Linked DNA regions of Homo sapiens: region 1 is linked to region 2. Evidence: promoter capture Hi-C in human tissues and cell types (Jung and others, 2019). All regions are on one chromosome and are shown on one strand. Each heading gives the region's core, a stretch centred on a gene start or on the middle of the fragment in contact. The rest is flanking DNA. Distances are from core to core; before and after follow the strand shown. Region 1 overlaps RAE1 (ribonucleic acid export 1). Region 2 holds the start of BMP7 (bone morphogenetic protein 7).

Region 1 (5,450 bases), core at 1,236-3,735, 88 kb before region 2:
AAATTCGAATGGCATAACCCCAATACCGCTAAGACCAACTCGTACATCTTTTATGAGAAAACTCCTACCACTTACATTAGCATTTTGCAGATGCTATATCTCAATGCTTGTCCTAATTTCCAGCATCCCACCCCAAACATAGGAAATATATCTGACAAAACAATCACCATACGTTAATGCAACATGCTGAGCGCAAAGGTTGCACCCTATAGGATTTATTTAGATGATACTCTTGTAAAAGCAAAACTATAGGGACAAAAAAAACAGATGAGTAGTTTCCAGGGGCTGCGAGCTGGGAAGGATTTGACGACAAAAGGAAGGAAGAGAATTTGGAGGCCGATGGATCTGTTCTATATCTAGAACACAACTCTATGCATTTCTTAACACTCACAGAGCTGTATACCAAAAAGGTTCAGTTTTACAGCAGGCAAATCAGACTCAATAAACCTGACTAAAGGAACAGGTACAAGGCCTCGGAAGGGGCCTCAAGGCTTAGCTTCTTCAGCACTGCAGTGTGTCTGCCTGTCACCAGGCCCCTTAACATTCTCACTACTGTTGGGTTCAGCCACCAGCAGCAATGGCAGGAGAAGGGAGGAGAGAGGCTGGGGTGTTCAACCCCTGGCTCCCCTCGCCAGGCCGAGGCCCGTCTACAGCTGTTCATCCCCTGGCTCTCCCGCGCCAGGTGGAAGCCCCTCTACAGCTGCAGCTCATGCTGTGCTCCAGGAGGCCCGCCCACTGCAGCTTGGCACCGGTGTTTCACCTTCCCTGCTGGCTTCTTCATAAATTATCCCTTAATCATTAAACTCTCCTCAATCACACACACAAAATTTAATACAAGAAAAGCTTTCAAAGAAAGTGGCTAACTAAAGCCAACATTAAGAACATCAATAAATGACTATATTTATGTTCAGAAACTTAGAATTCCTACAATATGAACACATATATGCTATTTGTGTTTGGATTATTAAATATTCTAAATCATTCTGTACTTTAAGTAAAATGGAACACGAGAAATGGAAGGGAACGTACGTCACTCCAGCAGACATCAAGCACAGGCCCAGTGTGCATCTGCTGGGCTTTTGGAATGGTCTGTCCACTGTCTTGAACTTCCCAGCAGCGAACCTGTAGTAACAAAAAAATTCAATGCAAACAAAGCAATTACGATGTATTGCTTGCATTTAACACCTAAAAACTAATGGGGTACACCTTAACCATACATAGACTTCTCATAGCAACCTAATTATCTAACTTCAAGAACAAAGGAATTAAAATATCTATGAAAGCAACTGTTTTCTTCGCCTAAGCTATTAAAATAAACAAATTCTATTGCTTACACATAAAATTGCAGATAATTTTCTCAATGCATCTATGAGATATGTCTTTTAAAGTAGAATATCACTTACCCATTACCATTCAGAGAATCAAGACCAAAGTAGAAACTTACCTCTTTTCTGAATACTTTATATAATCTCCCCTCCGTTAAAAAAGTAATACATTTTAGAGATTTTGTAAATATGGCAAAAAAATAAAAATCACCCTAATCACACCACAGACAACCACAGCTAATGGTTCTGTGTGCTCTTAGTCTTCTTTCCATGTACGCATATTTTCTGGAAGACACTAGATTATACAGTGTCTTCACTTTTGCAGCTACAGCTTTCCTCACCTGCATCACTAGCCTGTTCAACTTGAAACATCCTTTTTTTAAGCAGCAAATAATCTGAAATCTTTCTAAAAATTACATGTAGAAAGCAAGCTTGCTCAACCTTGACTACCATCCTCCCTCCTGTTCTCCTAACCCCTGCTGCCCCTGTGCTGTAGGCTACAGTTCAAAAGCTTTTCCAAAAACTTACAATGGTATTCCATCATACAAACATACTATACATTGCCATTACTACTGGATATTAAAATTTTCAAAATTTTCACAAGTTCACAGTGCTTTGGCTGTTATAAAGGTTAATTTAGATAATGCAGATGAAGTACATTATCAGATTTCCTACTCAAGTCCCAGAAGGGTATCAGTGAGATAAAGGGTATAAGCTGAAGGATTTTTGATAACTATTGCCAATTATCCTGTGGAAAAGCCAACTTACATACCTACCAGCCATACATGCAGGGTTTCAGCTTATCCTTGCTGGCACTATTATTCTTTTAAACTTTTAATTTTGTTAATTTAATAAAAAAAAGTCTTAAATTTGCATTTATCTGATTACAAGCATGGATGAATGGTTCAGGTTTATTCTTTCTTTTGTGAAGTCCCTCTTTACACCCTTTGCTTATTTTTCTACCAGAGTTTTCTTTCTTTTAGTAAACTGTAATTTTTTTGTCTTTCTTTTTGTACATGATGAGTAAGTATCTAGGCAAATCTGTGCTATTATTTAACGTTGAAAAAGTTTCATACATGCCTGAGGAACACTGTCAGGATGCCAAGAAAGGGAATTTGTTGGTGTGTGCCACTGGGTATAATGTTCACTCTGGATGAATATGATATTTGATTTGGGAATAAACTTCAAGAGACTGAACTAAAGTAGAAAATTTCGAGCAACACATATGATTGTGCTTTCCTAACAAAAACGGGTGTAAGAATAATGTCTGCCATTCAGAAGGGTTCACACCCCCTAAATTGATTTCTCAAAAAAGGCCATAAATAAGTCCAACTGATTCATTTACTTGGGAAACAACGGAGCTAAAGCTAACCTTGGCCATACAAAGAGAGATGATTTCTAGAACACGTATTTAAGGAGCACTTACATCATTAGCCCATGATCCTGCAATAAGAAAGTTCCCCGGCAAGGTTGGTGGGCTAAAAGACAGACAACCAATGCTATCATCAGGAGATGATGTTACTTCAATATCCTGCGGGAAAAAAGTCAATGTTAAAATGTATGCACGCTCACAACTTCATTCCAAATTGTTTTCTTTCTCACTAATTACCTCACGGTGGCCTTTCCTTGTGTACAAGAACTAACTGAATTAGACCTTTCCTTACTTTGATCAAAGACAGGAGTAAAAAATAAGCTAGAGAAAGTACCAGCACCACCAGGACTAGCAGTAGCAGCTGCTAATGAAATGCCCATGGTCTTGTTTTCTAAATGACCAGTTCACTCTGGCCCCACAGTGCTAGATCACAGTTTTCACCTGCCATCCCCTCTCTCCAACCATGGGAATTCTGAGTCAACAGTCCTGGCTGGGCCAGGCCCTGGGAATCTGCACCGGAATCTGCACCTTGGGTGATTCTGGAGACCTGGCAGGCCAGGAAGAACAGGACACAAGTACGGGGACACATTTTCTGTGCTCCAGTGTTTCAGAAACATGAGTTAGACAAAGTTTCAAAGCTTTCAGCCTAAAGGAGGCTCCCAAGTCATCTCGGGTTCTGTCCTTGATGGGAGAAACTCTGCCCAAACTCTTCCTACAAGCCCCAGGAAGCTTTTCGTGGTACCTTCATGGGATTGTGATTGTCTGTAGTTGCACTGCCAAACATGCTGGTCCCACTGGTTCCAAAACCTGAGGTTGTTCCAAACAGGCTCATTTTGAACCTAAAAAGTAATGAAAAATGTTAAGGATGGGTTTTCTCTTAATATCACTGAGAGGCAATGGTAAGATAATTAACTGGCAGAAGAGAAATACTCAAAGTGGCTTGAGGCCAGGCTTCACTTTTCAGACAAGAGCGCAATGAGCAGAGTGCTTTCAAAACATAAACCTTCTATTTTAGAGTAGTTTTAGGTTTCCAGAAATAGTAAAGATAGAATTCCCATACACTCCATATCTAGTTTCCCCTATTATCTCATATTAGTACGGTTCATTTGTTACCATTAATAAACCAGTATGGATACATTGCAGATTATTTTGTAGGCACCAGCTAGAAAATAAATTCACTCATTTTTTACATAGAGACCCTGAGCTGCGCAGCAGGAATATAACAGTAAACAAGATCGCAGGTCCCCGTGCTTTCAGGTTTCCACCTAGTGGGCATTCACTTTCCTACTAATTTCTACATTCTAGTTTAGGTCAGCATCCGCATGAAACTACCTAGAACAACCAGTCCGGGAAGCGAATCAGCAATTTCTTCGTAAAAGTTTTAAAAAGGTCGGGCATCGTGTTTTGGACATTTACCCAGCAAGAACCTCTCCCACCCTGGGTTTTTTCTTGAATATCATAATCTAACAGGCCCACCAGGGTTTGGTCAGGGCCTCTTGCCACTCAGGAGTTGGGACTCTAATCTCACCAGTCTTCATTTTCCTGCTCTGCAAACATAGAGAACATTAACACATTCTCCAGGGCTGCTCTGGGGATCAAATCAGATTATGTAGAAAATGCAGTATCTAGTTCATAGTGGGTACAATAAACGACTTTTCCCTTCTTTTTTCCTTCCAACTCCCCGAGGAGTTACGTACACTGAAACCACATTTCAATCCTACTACCTGTTACGCTGAAAAGTCCTCCATACCAGTCACCTCTCCAAAGGGAGCCAAATGGCTGAGTGACATCCTTGCTAACAAGACAACACAGAACGGAGAAACTGCAAGGAATTTGGGGAAGGCATTTGAGTTTCCTCAGCTTCATGAAAAATAAGTGCAGAACAAAAGGTCAGAGCAACAGCTACAAGCACATGTACATTTTAGTGAACGTGAGGGGATGTGGTCCTTGCCGGCCACACTTCTGCCCTCAAATGCAGAGGTACTTGAAACACCAGTTGGCTGTATGAACGAACAAAGGCATGACAAGGCTTCTGCAATCAGTCCAGGTGCTGGTTACACGGCTTTGGACGGGTCACTTAACCTTGATTTTCTCATCTGTAAAACAGAGACACTAATATCTACTTCACAGAGTTATGAGAACTAAATGAAGCCACACACACACACTGCCTAAAGCACTACAGGTTCTTAATAAATATTACTTTCACTCTATTCCTCTACCTCAACCTTCAAGTTGGGAGAGAACATTTCTGCCATTAGGGATGAACTTAGGAAAAAGAACATGGTAGGTGAGAATCGTTCGTGTTAGTCAGTGTGGACCACACCTTATGCTGAGCACTGGGAAGCTTCCAAAGTTCAGAAGGCACAGTCATCTGTGGGACCCACCTAATCTCTTCCCGCTCTCTCCCGCCTTGCTGCACCCCAGCCCTCCTAGCTCTGCTGGCTTCCTTTCTCCGCTGAACACAACAAGCTCATCCCTGCCTTGGAGCAAACCTAGTGCTGTTCCTTCAGCTTGGGATGATTTGCTTCTCCCTCCCCACAGCTACCTCCGTTTGAATCTTCATATCCCAGTTCAAAAGTTGCCTCCTCCGAACTTCTTGGGGTGATGAAAATGTCCCAAATTTGAACTTGCCATGTTTACGCAACTGCATAAAATTTCCAAACTCACAATATACACTTTCAATGGTTGAAATTAATGTTATTTTATACTTCAATAAAGCTGTCACACGTATTCTTTTTTAAAGTCACCTCCTC
Region 2 (5,166 bases), core at 1,729-4,228:
GGGACTTCAGAGGAAACCTTATCTCTTGAGGTCTTGGATATGAAGAGCATGTTGTCTCTTCCTCTTGCATGAGAAAAGATGGCGTCTCAGAGGAAGGGTTGCTGGGGTGAGGGATCTGGGAGATGCCTTAGCTTGGCGCCTGCACAGTCAGCCCTCAGTCAACCGGTCTCTTTAGGTTTTGGCTGTGCTTATTACTATTCATTCAACAGGTACTAATTGAGCACCTGCTGTGTGCCAGGCTCAGAATAGGCTCAGGTGAGATGCACAAAGAAGGGTAAACTAGAATCCTTGCTTAGACACTGACGGATCAGTTGTTTCATATGTAAATTGTAGCACCAAGACCTGCTGCCCCTGCCCCCAGCCTCACCTGCTTGTGAAGATCCCTCCAAAAGATTTGAGAGTAGATAAAAAGCAGAGACTACTACTGAAGAACAGGGCTGCTTTGGCTCCTTATTATTTCAGACTTTGGAAGAAAATGACCTCCTTTTTCTCTACTGGCACTGGAGGTGGCATAGCCTGTCCCTAGCAAGCCAGCGCTGGAGGGCGTGTGCAGGGCTGGGGACCGAGCCTGGTTTCTGTTCCCTGCTCTGCAGGGCTCAAGCACTTGCTGTTCCTCCACCTGGGATGCCTTTCCCTGGAAAAGCCTGTCTCTTTCTTGTCTTTCAGGACTCAGGTCAGTGGCATCTCCTCCAAAAACTCCCCTTCCCACCCTCCATCACCTCACCCTGTTTATCTGCGCCCCCGCCCCCACTGCCTGTCACTTATTGCAGGCTGAAGTGACCCAGGCTCTCCAGTTGTACACTCTCAGATGGACCCTGGACGACTGTGGCACTCCTGCAATTTCCCCAGTCTCCCTGGGGTAGGATTCCTGCTTGCCAGGATGCCCACCTTTCCTTCTCCCTCCTGCATGTCCTCCTCTGCCTGGCTTCTGAATTGTTTCCAGAGAGAGTGATAGACAAGATCTGCCTCTCCTTCAGTCCCTGAATCTTATTTAAGGCTCTTGCTTTGCTTCCCTGGCCTGGAGGCCGGCTCCTTGATGGAGTCTGCCATGTGGGTTCGCTCATGGCCATGTCTTCCTGCCCAGCATGGTGCTTGGCCCTGGGACTGGCCACATAATATCTGGGCCAGGTGCAAAATTAGTACGGGGCAGGGGGTACTTTGTTCATAGGTGATTCAGAACCACATATGGTGACCTCAGAGTAGGAAACCAAGTGTGGGGCCCTTAAGAGCTGGGGGGCCCTGTACGACTGTCCAGGTTGCAGGCCCCACAGCTCGCCTCCTGATATCCTGTGCTCCATGCTTGTCTGTTGAAGGAAGGAGTGAATGGATGAAGAGCAGGTGGTGGGGGTGGTTTGAGGGCCTTGCCTGGTGGGTGGGTAGAGGCCCCTCCCTGGCATGGGGCTCAAGACCTGTTCCATCCCACAGCCTGGGGCCTGTGTGTAAATGGCCAGGACCTGCAGGCTGGCATTTTTCTGCTCCTTGCCTGGCCTCTGGCCTCCCCTTTCTCCACCCATGTGGCCCCTCAGGCTGCCATCTAGTCCAAAAGTCCCCAAGGGAGACCCAGAGGGCCACTTGGCCAAACTACTTCTGCTCCAGAAAACTGTAGAAGACCATAATTCTCTTCCCCAGCTCTCCTGCTCCAGGAAGGACAGCCCCAAAGTGAGGCTTAGCCAGAGCCCCTCCCAGACAAGCGCCCCCGCTTCCCCAACCTCAGCCCTTCCCAGTTCATCCCAAAGGCCCTCTGGGGACCCACTCTCTCACCCAGCCCCAGGAGGGGAAGGAGACAGGATGAACTTTTACCCCGCTGCCCTCACTGCCACTCTGGGTGCAGTAATTCCCTTGAGATCCCACACCGGCAGAGGGACCGGTGGGTTCTGAGTGGTCTGGGGACTCCCTGTGACAGCGTGCATGGCTCGGTATTGATTGAGGGATGAATGGATGAGGAGAGACAGGAGAGGAGGCCGATGGGGAGGTCTCAGGCACAGACCCTTGGAGGGGAAGAGGATGTGAAGACCAGCGGCTGGCTCCCCAGGCACTGCCACGAGGAGGGCTGATGGGAAGCCCTAGTGGTGGGGCTGGGGTGTCTGGTCTCAGGCTGAGGGGTGGCTGGAAAGATACAGGGCCCCGAAGAGGAGGAGGTGGGAAGAACCCCCCCAGCTCACACGCAGTTCACTTATTCACTCAACAAATCGTGACTGCGCAGCTACAGTGGCTACCAGGCGCTGGGTTCAAGGCACTGCGGGTACCAGAGGTGCGGAGAAGATCGCTGATCCGGGCCCCAGTGCTCTGGGTGTCTAGCGGGGGTAAGAAGGCAATAAAGAAGGCACGGAGTAACTCAAACAGCAATTCCAGACAGCAAGAGAAACTACAGGAAAGAAAACAAACGTGCGAGGGGCGAGGCGAGGAAACAACCTCAGCTTGGCAGGTCTTGGAGGTCTCTGGGAGGAGAAAGCAGCGTCTGATGGGGGCGGGAGGTGGTGAGTGGGGAGAGGTCCAGGCGGAGGGAATGGCGAGCGCAGAGACAGGCTGGCAACGGCTTCAGGGAGGCGCGGAGGGGTCAGCGTGGCTGGCTTAAAAGGATACAGGGACTGAGGGGCAAGACCGGCTCAAGGGTCACCGCTTCCAGGAAGCCTTCTATTTCCGCGCCACCTCCGCGCTCCCCCAACTTTTCCCACCGCGGTCCGCAGCCCACCCGTCCTGCTCGGGCCGCCTTCCTGGTCCGGACCGCGAGTGCCGAGAGGGCAGGGCCGGCTCCGATTCCTCCAGCCGCATCCCCGCGACGTCCCGCCAGGCTCTAGGCACCCCGTGGGCACTCAGTAAACATTTGTCGAGCGCTCTAGAGGGAATGAATGAACCCACTGGGCACAGCTGGGGGGAGGGCGGGGCCGAGGGCAGGTGGGAGGCCGCCGGCGCGGGAGGGGCCCCTCGAAGCCCGTCCTCCTCCTCCTCCTCCTCCGCCCAGGCCCCAGCGCGTACCACTCTGGCGCTCCCGAGGCGGCCTCTTGTGCGATCCAGGGCGCACAAGGCTGGGAGAGCGCCCCGGGGCCCCTGCTATCCGCGCCGGAGGTTGGAAGAGGGTGGGTTGCCGCCGCCCGAGGGCGAGAGCGCCAGAGGAGCGGGAAGAAGGAGCGCTCGCCCGCCCGCCTGCCTCCTCGCTGCCTCCCCGGCGTTGGCTCTCTGGACTCCTAGGCTTGCTGGCTGCTCCTCCCACCCGCGCCCGCCTCCTCACTCGCCTTTTCGTTCGCCGGGGCTGCTTTCCAAGCCCTGCGGTGCGCCCGGGCGAGTGCGGGGCGAGGGGCCCGGGGCCAGCACCGAGCAGGGGGCGGGGGTCCGGGCAGAGCGCGGCCGGCCGGGGAGGGGCCATGTCTGGCGCGGGCGCAGCGGGGCCCGTCTGCAGCAAGTGACCGAGCGGCGCGGACGGCCGCCTGCCCCCTCTGCCACCTGGGGCGGTGCGGGCCCGGAGCCCGGAGCCCGGGTAGCGCGTAGAGCCGGCGCGATGCACGTGCGCTCACTGCGAGCTGCGGCGCCGCACAGCTTCGTGGCGCTCTGGGCACCCCTGTTCCTGCTGCGCTCCGCCCTGGCCGACTTCAGCCTGGACAACGAGGTGCACTCGAGCTTCATCCACCGGCGCCTCCGCAGCCAGGAGCGGCGGGAGATGCAGCGCGAGATCCTCTCCATTTTGGGCTTGCCCCACCGCCCGCGCCCGCACCTCCAGGGCAAGCACAACTCGGCACCCATGTTCATGCTGGACCTGTACAACGCCATGGCGGTGGAGGAGGGCGGCGGGCCCGGCGGCCAGGGCTTCTCCTACCCCTACAAGGCCGTCTTCAGTACCCAGGGCCCCCCTCTGGCCAGCCTGCAAGATAGCCATTTCCTCACCGACGCCGACATGGTCATGAGCTTCGTCAACCTCGGTGAGTAAGGGCAGGCGAGGGTACGCGTCTCCTTTCGGGGGCACTTTGAGACTGGGAGGGAGGGAGCCGCTTCTTCTATGCAGCCCGCCCAGCTTTCCGCTCCTGGCTGAAATCGCAGTGCCTGCCCGAGGGTCTCCCACCCACAGCCCTATGACTCCCAAGCTGTGTGCGCCCCCAGGTCGGGCGCGCTGGGTTCGGTGAGCCTGTAGGGGTTACTGGGAAGGAGGGATCCTCCGAAGTCCCCTCCATGTTACGCCGCCGGCCGCATCTCTGGGGCTGGAGGCAAGGGCCGTTCAAAGCGCGGGGCTCGGTCATGTGAGCTGTCCCGGGCCGGCGCGGCTCGCGCTACCTGGATGTAAAGGGCCCTTCCCGGCGAGGCTGCCTTGCCGCCCTTCCTGGGCCCCTCTCAGCCCTGCCTGGCTCTGGCATCGCGGCCGTCGCACCCCCTTACCCTCCCTGTCAAGCCCTACCTGTCCCCTCGTGGTGCGCCCGCCTTAGCGTACCGCGCGCTCCGAGCGCCTTGGGGCCCCTCTCCGGGCCGCCGGATGCCCCATTCTCTCTTGGCTGGAGCTGGGGAAGAAACGGTGCCATTGCTAATTTTCTTTGTTTTCTTTCTTTGTTTATTTTTTTCTTTTTTCTTTTTTTTTCTTTTCTTTTCTTTTTTTTTTTTTTTGAGACGGAGTTTCACTCTTGTCGCCCAGTCTGGAGTGCAATGGCGCGATCTCTGCTCACCGCAACCTCTGCCTCCCGGGTTCAAGCGATTCTCGTGCCTCAGCCTCCCGAGTAGCTGGGATTACAGGCATGCGCCACCATGCCTGGCTAATTTTGTATTTTTAGTAGAGACAGGGTTTCTCCATGTTAGGCAGGCTGGTCTCGAACTCCCGATCTCAGGTGATCCTCCCGCCTCAGCCTCCCAAAGTGGTGCTGGGATTACAGGCGTGAGCCACTGTGCCCTGCCGCTAGTCTTCTATTTTAAGTATTTAGTGGTAGGTCCCGGGCCGGCAGAATCTATTTTCAGCATTTACCACGTGTGGCGCGCAAACCACAGGTTTTGGCGATTGGGTTGCGCGGGATCTCAGAGCTGACGCCGCGGGGGCGGCTGGGGGTCCCGGTTTCCGACTGGAGCCGCGACGACCCCGGCGACGCGAGCCTGGGGCTGCAGCGAGGGCCGGGGAGCTCCCCCTCCATATGTGCGCGCACATTCTCCAGACTTGCTCAAACTAACCCCCCGGCAGCGCCAGCGCGCTGCGGG

The links. The method cuts DNA at HindIII sites, captures the fragments that hold promoters and counts their contacts. A contact is called where the count stands out against the background at its distance.
Region 1: a contact is called between a fragment that was not itself captured here and the fragment with the promoter of BMP7 in region 2, in 3 of the 25 tissues and cell types used here (dorsolateral prefrontal cortex, mesendoderm cells and thymus).

Annotation. Positions count from the first base shown.
Region 1 is chr20:57,352,118-57,357,567 of GRCh38, reverse strand. RAE1 (ribonucleic acid export 1) reads right to left here. Exons shown (of 12, transcript NM_003610.4): 2 at 3,440-3,536; 3 at 2,752-2,856; 4 at 1,030-1,122. The coding sequence starts at 3,529. It also overlaps the pseudogene MTND1P9. Among named protein-coding and RNA genes, the nearest start is that of RAE1, 3.6 kb to the right of the region's middle. The HindIII fragment of the contact is 5,894 bases long and covers 1-5,432 here.
Region 2 is chr20:57,264,453-57,269,618 of GRCh38, reverse strand. BMP7 (bone morphogenetic protein 7) reads left to right here and starts at 2,978. Exons shown (of 7, transcript NM_001719.3): 1 at 2,978-3,914. The coding sequence starts at 3,497. LOC112268270 (translation initiation factor IF-2-like) reads right to left here and starts at 3,179. Exons shown (of 2, transcript NR_171651.1): 1 at 2,977-3,179; 2 at 2,332-2,836. RefSeq lists a cis regulatory region at 2,779-2,871, a promoter at 129-3,490 and an enhancer at 4,599-5,166. The HindIII fragment of the contact is 13,311 bases long and covers 1-5,166 here.